4 separate regions of the Homo sapiens genome follow, and all the other regions are linked to region 1. The links are contacts of gene promoters, found by promoter capture Hi-C in blood cells and fetal thymus (Javierre and others, 2016). All regions are on one chromosome and are shown on one strand. The core of a region is centred on a gene start or on the middle of the fragment in contact, and the rest is flanking DNA. Distances in the headings are between cores, read along the strand shown.

Evidence for each region. Contacts are between HindIII fragments. The CHiCAGO score rates a contact against its expected background, and 5 or more counts as called.
Region 2: a contact is called between a fragment that was not itself captured here and the fragment with the promoter of THYN1 in region 1, in 1 of 17 cell types (monocytes). The highest score is 6.2, in monocytes.
Region 3: a fragment that was not itself captured here is called in contact with the fragment with the promoter of THYN1 in region 1 in 1 of 17 cell types (naive CD8 T cells); the score reaches 6.3 in naive CD8 T cells.
Region 4: the fragment with the promoter of RPUSD4 here is called in contact with the fragment with the promoter of THYN1 in region 1 in 4 of 17 cell types (monocytes, M0 macrophages, total B cells and 1 more); the score reaches 12.4 in monocytes.

What each region holds. Positions count from the first base shown.
Region 1 is chr11:134,252,010-134,254,716 of GRCh38, reverse strand. It overlaps THYN1 (thymocyte nuclear protein 1), which reads left to right and starts at 1,365. Exons shown (of 7, transcript NM_014174.3): 1 at 1,365-1,877. The coding sequence starts at 1,835. ACAD8 (acyl-CoA dehydrogenase family member 8) reads right to left here and starts at 1,149. Exons shown (of 11, transcript NM_014384.3): 1 at 1,008-1,149. The coding sequence starts at 1,116. RefSeq lists an enhancer at 1,235-1,604. The HindIII fragment of the contact is 5,608 bases long and covers 1-2,707 here.
Region 2 is chr11:125,514,854-125,517,560 of GRCh38, reverse strand. No RefSeq gene overlaps it. Among named protein-coding and RNA genes, the nearest start is that of FEZ1, 20 kb to the right of the region's middle. The HindIII fragment of the contact is 1,425 bases long and covers 596-2,020 here.
Region 3 is chr11:126,057,124-126,059,830 of GRCh38, reverse strand. All of the region lies in intron 1 of CDON (cell adhesion associated, oncogene regulated), which reads left to right. Among named protein-coding and RNA genes, the nearest start is that of CDON, 4.4 kb to the left of the region's middle. RefSeq lists an enhancer at 1-2,671. The HindIII fragment of the contact is 7,089 bases long and covers 1-2,707 here.
Region 4 is chr11:126,210,325-126,213,031 of GRCh38, reverse strand. RPUSD4 (RNA pseudouridine synthase D4) reads left to right here and starts at 1,382. Exons shown (of 7, transcript NM_032795.3): 1 at 1,382-1,582; 2 at 1,977-2,142. The coding sequence starts at 1,394. FAM118B (family with sequence similarity 118 member B) reads right to left here and starts at 1,250. Exons shown (of 9, transcript NM_024556.4): 1 at 1,202-1,250. RefSeq lists an enhancer at 1,368-1,597. The HindIII fragment of the contact is 5,382 bases long and covers 444-2,707 here.

The DNA.
Region 1 (2,707 bases), core at 116-2,615:
CAAAACCCACCTCTAAATAATTCCTTATCTGCTTCGGTATCAACCAGGGTAATCTGGGTTATCAAATTCTAAGCGCTAGGCCAGGGCAGCACCTCTTGAATGAGTTTTAGGACATTCAGAAGAAAACAGTATTCTATGCCTTACTGTACTTTATAGATCTGATATCTAAGGGACTTATTCTGTTGTAAAGAAAACTGCCATTTATTTAAAATAAATTTAAAAATATTTCAGAAGAAAAAAGTGTTTATAAACATTCTTGGCAGAGAAGTCACAAACTGGCCGGGTCTCCACCACTCCTCGCTACATTCAAATTACTGTTCAGAGCCTAAAGACACTCAAGTTTGTCAGCTCTGGTAGAGTTTCCCACTGGCAATAATAATTATTTTTCCTGCATGAGTTTCAACACTAAAAGTGTCTTATAGCCAGAGGTGTTAAGATACCAAATCTTTGTGTGTGAGCAAATCTTGTATGACCTGGAGTTCTTGTGCAGTTGTCACCATCAGCACCCAGCCAGCTTCTTATATTCTCACTGCTTTTATGACCTACTGTTATGATTAAAAACCAACCAACCCAACAACAACCAAGCCCCAAGTTTCTTCACTTCTCTAAGCATCCGAGGGTGACCGGCCGCAGGAGGACCCGGGCCGGAGGGGAACCTGCGGGGGGATGACCGGCCGGAGGGGAACCTGCGGGGGGTGACCGGCCGGAGGAGGACCGGGGCGGGGGTGACCGGCCGGAGGAGGACCGGGGCGGGGGTGACCGGCCGGAGGAGGACCCGGGCAGGGGTGACGGGCCAGATGGGGACCCGGATGGTGGTGACCGACCGGAGGGGGCAGCCAGGCCGGGGGTGACCGGCCGGAGTAGGGAGCCAGGCCGGGGGGGTGACTGGCCGGAAGGGGAGCTGACGCCGGGGTGACTGGATGGAACGGGGAGACTGCAGCCCCTCGCGGACATATGTCCGCCGGGGTTCTGGACACCTGTCCTACTGCCCGCCAGGAGATCCTTACGGTCGATGCAGGAGGTCAAGCTCCGGTGGCCGGTCTGGACGAGGACCCGGAGACCGCCGGGCAGGCAGCCGAGGCGCGCCCCGAAACGCCGGCAGCCGCTCCACAGCATAGCCGCCGCAGCTCCGCGTTCAGCTAAGAGTCTGAACGCCTTCGACCTCCGTTGCGCTCGCACTGGCGGGACCTGCGACCCGGCAACGCCTGTCCCACTGCACCCTGGGGGTTGTAGTCCTCCCACGAGCCCTAACAACCCAGGTGCCAGGCGGGCTCCCAAGGGGACAGGACTACAATTCCCAGAAGTCCTCGGGGCCTCGGCGCCGCAGAGATGCACCGCCCACCAAGCGCCGCGGGGGTCGCGCTGCACAGCCTGCGGCGCAGCGGAGGCGGACCGCAGTCGAGTCTGCAGAGTGTTGGGTCTGTAGCCAGCAAATTACTTCATCATCTAGATTATCCATTCAGTTGATCCTAATTAGCAAGGATAACAAGGTAACACAAGGCTTACTTATATTCACCCAACAAAAGTGTCTCTGTGGAGCCACTTCCCAGTGAACTACATACTGAGATAGGGGTTCCTGGATGAGAAGGACCAAGGACAGAACCGAGAAGAGTTTAGGGGCAGGTTATGCGAGATGGAAATGGCGCAGATAACGGAGGGAAGGATTTGAGGGCTCAAACGTAGGCGTCTGTGTTTCGCAAAAGTTGGAGACGTTCTAGGCTGCCTCTCGTTGCCTCCATCTCGCTCTGCGCGGGTTTTGGAGGACATTAGCATTCTTTCTTGTATCTCCGTTGATTCCAGAATCGTCCGCACTAAAGTCCCCTGCAGCGTGACCATGTCGAGACCCCGGAAGAGGCTGGCTGGGACTTCTGGTTCAGGTGAGCTGCCCCTAGGCTGCACAAAGGCAGCCCAAGAAAAAACTTTTCTCGAAGAGCCTGTTTAGTACTCATTTTTCACTCCCTGCTTTTTGAGAACCCTTTGTGATATTTTTACTCCATTATCCTTAATCACTCTCCATCTTCTTTACTTGTCTCACCAAGCTCCTACCTACAGTTCCTTTTTCTTGTTTATTCAGGCAATGGTTGTTGTGCACAAAGACTCTTTGAGATACCAGGTGGCGTGCTAAAGAATATAAAGCGCCTGCTTGCGGGTGAACTGCAAACAGATGTGATGGGGTTCAGGAAAATGGATTGTTAAGTTTATGGAGGGAGGAATCACGGGGAAGGCCTCGAGAAGGATGTGGAATTTGAGCCCAGCCTTGAAGAATGGGAGACTTTCCACGGGCAAAGTTTAGTACTAAGAAAACGTGATGTCGTTTTTATAATCACAAAGATGGATGGCATTCTAAGTGGATGGAGGAGGAGGAACATTGGAAGGTACAGAAAGTACCTCTTTTGGGAATGACAGGGGTTCCAGATATACTACAGCACATTGCAGTTATTTATCAATATGTGGTGTTTGCAGTGGGCCTGTTAACTCCTAAGGGGCCATTAGGAAACTAGGTTAGGAAGGTATGCTGGGTTCAGAGCATTAGACAGCCATAAATGGTATTTAATGACAATTGATGTAGGGACTTTGACTAAATTCAGAGGCAGTATAGTCATTAAGTAGCTTCAGATAGACCTCAGTGACAGGTGCTGACCTCATATCTTGATTCCACCATTACTGGATGTGTGATCTGGAGCATGCTTCCCAGATGAAGAGTAGA
Region 2 (2,707 bases), core at 59-2,558, 8.7 Mb after region 1:
AGAACTTGAATAGATGCAGCAGGATTTGGTTCAAGGTCCAGCCTGGAGATACCAGAGTTAACAAGACCCCTTTTGCAGGATCTCCTGGGCTAAGACCAACTCTGTCCCTCCCCTCCCTTTTTTTTTTTTTTTTCTTTCCCTAGGAGCAATTTAGTTTCCCTTTCTCTTTTGGTAGATAAAAGCTGCCTGTGGGAATGCAGCAGCTCTTCCTAGTAACCATGGGAACCTTATTGGCATGGCAACCTGGCAGCCATAAGAAAGGCAGCTGGGGGGGTGGAGGGAAGGGAAGAGGTGGGAAGTAGTCCTTAGGAATAGGGGAGGGGGAAGCAGCCTTCCTTCCTGCAGAGGAGAGAAAAAGGAGGAAAGGAGGGCAGCTGGACCCAAGGAGAATCCGCTGATGAGTTCAAACCTCACTCCTTAATTCAGCTGAGGTGGGCCTTAGAGCAGGGCTGGGAGCCAAATGTGGAACTAAGATCTAAACCTATTGATATTTTTCTGTTCTGAAGTATAACTCAGGAACACCAAGAAAAGAGTAGGGGCTGGAGACACAGAGTAAATGATCCTACAACACGTGTGCAAATTTTGACGTCAAGCTTTGGTTGCAGGCAAAATACCACCCAGAGCTTTTTCGGGCTCTGGAGCCCAAGAACCTTTTATTAAAGATATCTAGGGACAAGGACATTTCCAAGCAGCACCTAAAGCAAGAAAAAAAAAATCTTTGCAATAATGTTGAGAATGTCTGGGAATATAGTAAAAGCAGAAACAAACAAATGAAGGGACCAAGAAACCCTCAGAAAGATAAAAAGTTTATTTTAAACTGAAACCATTTGAGCTACAGCAGATGCAGATAGAAATCATATCTGGACTTCCCTGATCTGACTAAAGCAGAGCCTCCCAAAATACGACTGCCATTAACCCCCCTTCAGGTTTGGGAGAATCCCCAGATTTGGTCTAATTCAGCTTCCAGCCAGAAAGAAGACTGTACATTAGCATCAGAATAAAAAAGCCCAATAGAATCTTCCATACATTCCCAATGAAGCCTTAACCACCATTCCCTTTTGTTAAACTGATGCAGTCACACGTACCCCTGGCTATTTTTGCCAGGGATTACCCTTTACTGAGTACTCCCCCATGCATGTGTAAATAATCCTTGTCTTTTCTTCTGTGGATCTGTCTATCATCAATTAATTTGCAGTCCCCCAAGCCCCAAACACACACTACAACATAGTTGGTGGAAGAAAAGACTTCCTTCCAACACAGACAAAAACCCATTAGGGAAAAATAACTATTGCAGAAGAAGGAGTGAGCAGCAGCGTGGTTAGCAGAGCCCTGCCAGTACTTGTTTTAGACTCAGCTAAAATCCTTCTCAGCATTTTTTTTTTTTTGCACTGGAGTCTCGCTCTGTCACCCAGGCTGGAGTGCAGTGGTGCAGTCTCGGCTCACTGCATCCTCTGCCTCCCAGGTTCAAGTGATTCTCCTGCCTCAGCCTCCGAGTAGCTGGGATTACAGGCGCCCGCTGCCACACCCAGCTAATTTTTGTATTTTTAGTAGAGACAGGGTTTCACCATGGTGGCCAGGCTGGTCTCGAACTCCTGACCTCAGATAATCTGCTCGCCTCGGCCTCCCAAAGTGCTGGGATTACAGGCGTGAGCCACAGCGCCTGGCTCATTCTTGTTTTTTTTGATGAACATAGTGGGAACGTGGCTATCCTGAACTTTGGAGTCAGATGGCTCTCTGGGTTAGAACTCCTGCCTTACCCCTTCTTAGCTGTGTGAGCCTTGAACAAATTATCCCATCCCTGAGAGCCTGTTTTCTCATTTTCCTAAACAAAGGGTAATCATACATACTTTATAAGGTCATTGTGCAAATAAAATGAGATGAAAAGTTTAACAAACAGTATTGTTAGGTAAAGCTCCTTACATAGTAAGCACATAAATGGCTGCTCTTGTTACGCTGCTTGCTTTTTAGAAATGAATCTGTTTGGGTAGTAGTGTAGCATCACCTGAGACCTGACTAAGCTTTTGTTTGCTTATTTGTTTAAGATTCATTGACTTTTTAAAAAATCACACTTTTACTGAGATATAATCACATACCATAAAATTTACCTTTTCATTTATTATTTAGAGACAGGGTCTTGTTCTGCTGTGCAGGCTAGAGTGCAGTGGTGTGATCACAACTCACTGCAGCCTCTACCCCTTAGGGTCAAGTGATCCTCCTGCCTTCTTAGTCTCCCAAGTAGCTGGGGCCACAGGTGTGTGCCACCCTACCCAGCTAATTAAAAAAAAACTTGTTTGTAGAGATGGGGTCTTGCTATGTTGGCCAGTCTGGTCTTGAACTCCAGGATTTAAGCAATCTTCCTGCTTTGGCATTCCAAAGTGCTGGGATTATAAGCATGAGCCACAGCATCCAGCCACACTTTTTTTTTTTTTTTTTTTGAGATGGAGTTTTGCTCTTGTTGCCCAGGCTGGAGTGCAATGGCGCAATCTTGGCTCACTGCAACCTCCGCCTCCCAGGTTCAAGTGATTCTCCTGTCTCATCCTCCCAAATAGCTGGGATTACAGGCATGTGCCACCCCATTTGGCTAATTTTGTATTTTTAGTAGAGACAGAGTTTCTCCGTGTTGGTCAGGCTGGTCTTGAACTCCCGACCTCAGGTGATCCGCCTGCCTCGGCCTCCCAAAGTGCTGAGATTACAGGCGTGAGCCACC
Region 3 (2,707 bases), core at 68-2,567, 8.2 Mb after region 1:
TGATATTATTAATGTGGCTTTTTAAAATCAAGCTAATTATACTTGCCTAAAAGAGCCACATGTGTGTGATTCTAGCTGCCTGGTGCCTTTTGAGAGCCCTGGAGACAAGCTAGTGAATAGAGCTGAAAATTCATTCTGTATTTGATTAAATGGAACAGACTCGCTGCTCCTTACCCCAGCGGGGGCTATGAGATCTCTTGATCCCCGAAGCGGCTCCAAGACCCTGGGAATTCCATTAGCGAGCACCTGAGGAATTTCTGCCCTGCAGTGCCTTTTTTGTATGTGTGTATGTGTGTGTGTGCAGAGGGAGTGGAGCAGAGCGGGGATTGGGGGGATGCGGGCAGGGGGGGTTGAGGGGGTGGAGGGAAGGCTACATTAGAAGACTCCATATGTTGGCAGATCTAAAATCAAGGCATGACTTAACAGCTTATCTTGTAAGAGAAAAGCCCAACCCAAAGGCAGATTGCTAGTCCGGACTTTATTACAAGCAGGACTACAGTGATGTGTTTTCAGCACTGAAGTGAACTCCAGTGTAAGTACAGAAAGTGGCTTCTCTGCTTTCCCTCCGAAGCACAAGCATATACACGTTGCAGACTTGGTAAGTTTTCTTTGAATGATCTTTTGATAAATATGTAAAATTATCTTACTGTTTGGTCTTGCCTGTAAAGGCTGATGTATCGTTTTAATAACTTTCAAACTGAGAGCAAAATCAGACTTCATGTGAAACAAATGGTTTTGCAGTGATGAAATGCTTGTTTTAATAGGCATATTTTAGTTTACTATTGATAGAATTTGATTGTTTCTGTTACATTATTATTATTATAGAATTCTAATTTAGATTATGTCTTTTCTGTTGTCTTTTTAAGAATTGTATCATTTCTAGTGTTTCTGAGGCATTACTTTGCAGACTTGCTAGCAGCGCCAAGTAAATGAAAATCTATCTGCCAAAAACATTCTGTAAAATCTTTGGAGCAAAATTTTTGAGAAACATTAGTGTGTCTTCCTTCCCAAGTCCCTTTTCCCCTGCCTCAAATAATGTTTGGGCACAAACTTTTTTTCAGAATATTAGCCCAGTTTGTTTCTTGTGTACTTTTCAAGGAAGACCAGTTCTGAATGGTGGATGGTGTAGTTAATTGGTTTTCATCTACCAAGAATGTGAATTCCAATGCTCCTGGTTTTCAGCTAATGCAGAATGCAGTAGCATATTTGATGGTTCATTTGATATATTTTGTTTCCAAGTAAAGTCGTGTTGTAAATAGTGCACAGTCTTTTCCGTCCTACTCCCATGTAGCCCTCTACCAAGTTCTCCTCACAATACAGTGTGTTCAGAAAATAAAGAAGCCTTTTTGAAGATATGTTTAGCTTTTTTCCACCTTAATCCTGGGCATTTCTCCTACTACTATGGCCAGATTGAAAGGACCCTTGAATGAATTGGAGTAAACACTGCAGTTTGTGCCTGTCCGCATTCACAGCTGTTTAGTCGCTTTGCTGTGCGGTATATTTTGATGGCCAGAGAGAATAAAAAAACTAGCCCAAAGAACATTTTGTTCTGCTGTATATCTGTTGGAATGTGAGTAGGGACTCCAGTGCTTAAGAGCCACTGATGTGCCTTTCATCTTACTCGAGAAAAAATATATGGGTTATATTACTGAACTTAGCTTACATATTTTGTTTATGTTTTGTTACTTGGAACTGTGAGGCCAATTTTATTTTTATGTTACCCTAATACAAACAGAGAATTTGGACGCTGACATAGAGCTTGCTTTTCAGCTATTCTTGTTGTAGACCAGCTCACTTCTTGTTATTTATGTGAGCCTGGGCAATGATCTTGACTTAAGCCTTGGGGGTCTTTGTCTGTAAAATGGGTATAATAACAGAAATTATGTCTTACCATTGTTGTGGGATTAAATGAGATAATGAAAGTCAAGCACTTGGCATATAGTAAAACCTCTGTAAATGTTAGCTGCTGTTATTTTTATTAACTCCTCCTGTATATGTAAGTGTACATGTATTTCTCAGAAGCTAGTAATAGTGCGGGCACGTGAAACAATACAGCTTTCTTAAATTTGCAGCTGAAACTTAGAAGGCACTTGGACATTGTGTGTAATTTTTTTCCAGTTGAGGTGTAACATAGTAATATCACAAGTGTACAGCTAATGTATACTAAGTGAACAGCTAGATGAATTGTTACATATGCACATGTCTGTGGTAACCAGTACCCAGATGGAGATATAGAACATTTCCTTGGCCTTAGAAAGCTCCCTGGTGCCCATCCCAGGCAGCCCTCCCTCTTGCTAGCAGGCAGCAGCTATTCTGAAGAGTTGGAATAGATGAGTTTTGCCTGTTCGTGAACTGTATGAACATGGACTCCTACAGTATGTAGTCTTATGTTGGAGTTCTTGCACTGCTCAATAATGAGCATTGTAATAGACATAAGCCTGTGAGATTTATTCATGTTATTGAATAACATTTATTTATGTATACAGTACTAATTCATGCTTTGTAAATTGTTGTAGAGTCTTTTGTGCGGTTTGAAATTCATAATAATTCATTTTATTGGCACATTGGATACACAGTCTTTGGGGGAAAAAAGAAAATAACACTTCTTCCTACATTACTAGAAAATCAGATCCCAATGGCTATCTTAGGAAAACAACCATGACCTCATTTTTATTCACAGAACTGGGTTTATTCACTACTTGAAGGT
Region 4 (2,707 bases), core at 133-2,632, 8.0 Mb after region 1:
AAAGACCAGACCTCATCACTGACCACCTAGATTGTAACTAGTTTTCCTACTATCAAACCCTTTCCTTCCCCACTATCAAACCCTTTCCTTCCCCATCTGTCCTGCATTCAACTGCCAGATTCATTTCCAGAATTCCACTTTCAAGGAGTCTCTCTGCCCTACTCGAAAAGCTTCAAAGACTCCTCACTACGTATCACCTCTAGTTCAAACTCTTCAACTTGAGTCTTCTATGAGTAGCTCCACCTGATCAACTTTGTTTCTTGTTGGTACGGCTCCCTTCTGCCAAACCCTTTAGGAGGTGTAGAACCCAAATCTAATTCAACTACCTATTCTCTAATAACTCCTCAGGCAGCCTTCATTCCAAGCAGTCTTAAAAAATTGTTCCTTCTATCGTCACAGATCCATTAGTTTTCAGGACATTCTTTCTGAACTCAGCATAAGCTTTCCTCTTAACAAATGGCAGGTATATCCCAAGTTATTTTTAACACTACCATCCCAAACAGATGTTTATCTTCCCAGCCACCCCTGAGTGAAATCAGAGGGAGTCGCCTGCAGTTCGGGCAAGGGAATCCCAACATCGCATCTCGTGAGAGGAGGTATGGTGTGGTTGCAAACTATGGAGAGGAAAAATAAAGGAAACAGGAAAAGTGAAGGTCTGTGCTCCGTTCTTTCAGCTTTTTCTTTAGGAGGAGTAGGGAAGGTAGGGAGGAGACCCCCAAGAAATGAATTCTTGAGGAAGGGCAGAAAAAACACTCACAGTGCTTCCTAAGTAGGAAATAGGTGCTGGGGGCCCTGGATAAGGGAAGGGGCCGTCATCCTTAGGAGAAGGGTACAGGTTACAACGCGAAACAAAGAGGCTGGGAGTTGGAAGATGAAGGGTGGAGAGACTACAGAGATCCGGGCATCCGATCAAGAGGGTCCCCGACGCGTCCCGCAGGGGACTGGCGGATCACCGGAGATTCAGTGGCTAAGAGGGACGGCGTCGGTGCCTAGGAGGGCTCTGGGGCGAGCGTTTATGGGACATCGCTCCTAAGGGGGCGCGGGGGCGGGGAGGAGTTTTTGAGTGGGATCGTGTACCAAAAGGAGAAACGTTTCTCAGACCAGTGCTCTTCTTGAACGGAAATCCCGGGGACGCAGAAAACGTTAAACCGTTGAGGCACCGGCATTTCCCAGCCCCAGCCCGGCTTCCCTACACACTCACCGAGTCTCCTCCAAACGCCACTGCTCCAGCTGCAGCTACCGGCCGGCGCAGCCGCACTGAGCGCGCACCGTCCCCACGTGACTCGCCCAGGCCCCACCCCGCACCACGTGACCTGCAGGGCCCACCCACTCCCGCCTCATTGTAGTCGCCCTTCTCCACGTGGTCTTGGCTCGCCCCGCCCTTCCTTGTAAGATGGCGGCGCCCAGGTGGAGCGCGTCGGGCCCCTGGATCCGGGGAAACGGCCAAGGTTGCGGGAGTCTCTTCACTCTCGTCTCAAAGCCATTTTGTGCCGCTGCCGCTGCCTCTACGGCCATAAATGCCCAGAGATTAGCGGAGAAGCTCCGAGCCCAGAAACGGGAACAAGACACAAAGAAGGAGCCGGTGAGTCCAAAGGGACCAGAACTCCCTAGAGGCAGTGCGCTCATTGGTTTCCCAGACGGGGAGTAGGTAGGAGGGTCCTCTGAGTGAAAGCGTGTGAGTCAATAGCCCGGACGCAAGGTGGGAGAATGGGGAGAAGGCGGAGGGGAGGGGTCAGTAAGGGTACGGTGTTTTCCCGTGAGCTGGATCTTTGGCTACTGTCAGGCTCAGTCCTAACCACTGCGTCGGTACGCAGGTTAGACAGATGGGTATCTCTGCTCTCAAATTAGTCGAAGGCGGCGCGGGTCTGATGCAAAGATAGTCATTCCCTACTCAGATTCTCACCCAGACCTTTATGGAAGGTCTTCTCCACGGCTTCCGCACCAGGCATTCCCCACGGCTCCTTCTTTCTCCCTAGGTGTCCACAAACGCTGTTCAGCGGAGAGTGCAAGAAATAGTGCGGTTCACACGGCAGCTGCAGCGAGTCCACCCCAACGTGCTTGCTAAGGCACTGACCCGAGGAATTCTCCACCAGGACAAGAACCTTGTGGTCATCAATAAGCCCTACGGTCTCCCTGTGCATGGTAAGGACCACGCGGGAAAGGTGGAGGAACCTGCAGCTGCTTTCTGCTACAACCGAGGAAAACTGAGACGTTACTTGTGGTGCACTCTAAAGCCTTGCATTCAAATTAATTAAACTTTTGTAAACTACCGTCCAATATAAGGAACCACCGAGAACACAGAAATAAATAAATAAGACAGTCCTCCCTTTCTAAACATCTGACAGTAAGCAATTCGTAGAATACGCTGTGTGCAGACTACAGGGATCGCTGTAGAGATATACAAAGGCTGTGTGGTTCTAGACTAAAGGTTATCTTCCATCAGAACTGGGAATGAGAAAATGATACATAAGAAAAAAGGGGGTGTGTGTGTGTGTGTGTGTGTGTGTGTGTATGTATGTTGGAGTATATGTAACATACAACCCCAGAGTGACTGGAATTTAGTGGACCTTCAAATGTCTTTCAACAGATGTTGCATGTAGTTGTCAGGGACAGCTGAAGTGAATCAGGAAAGATTGATTTAAAAAATGCATTTGTGAAAGAGGGAAAAGGCCCATTTTAGCTAGAAGAAGGTAATGCTTTTTGGGGA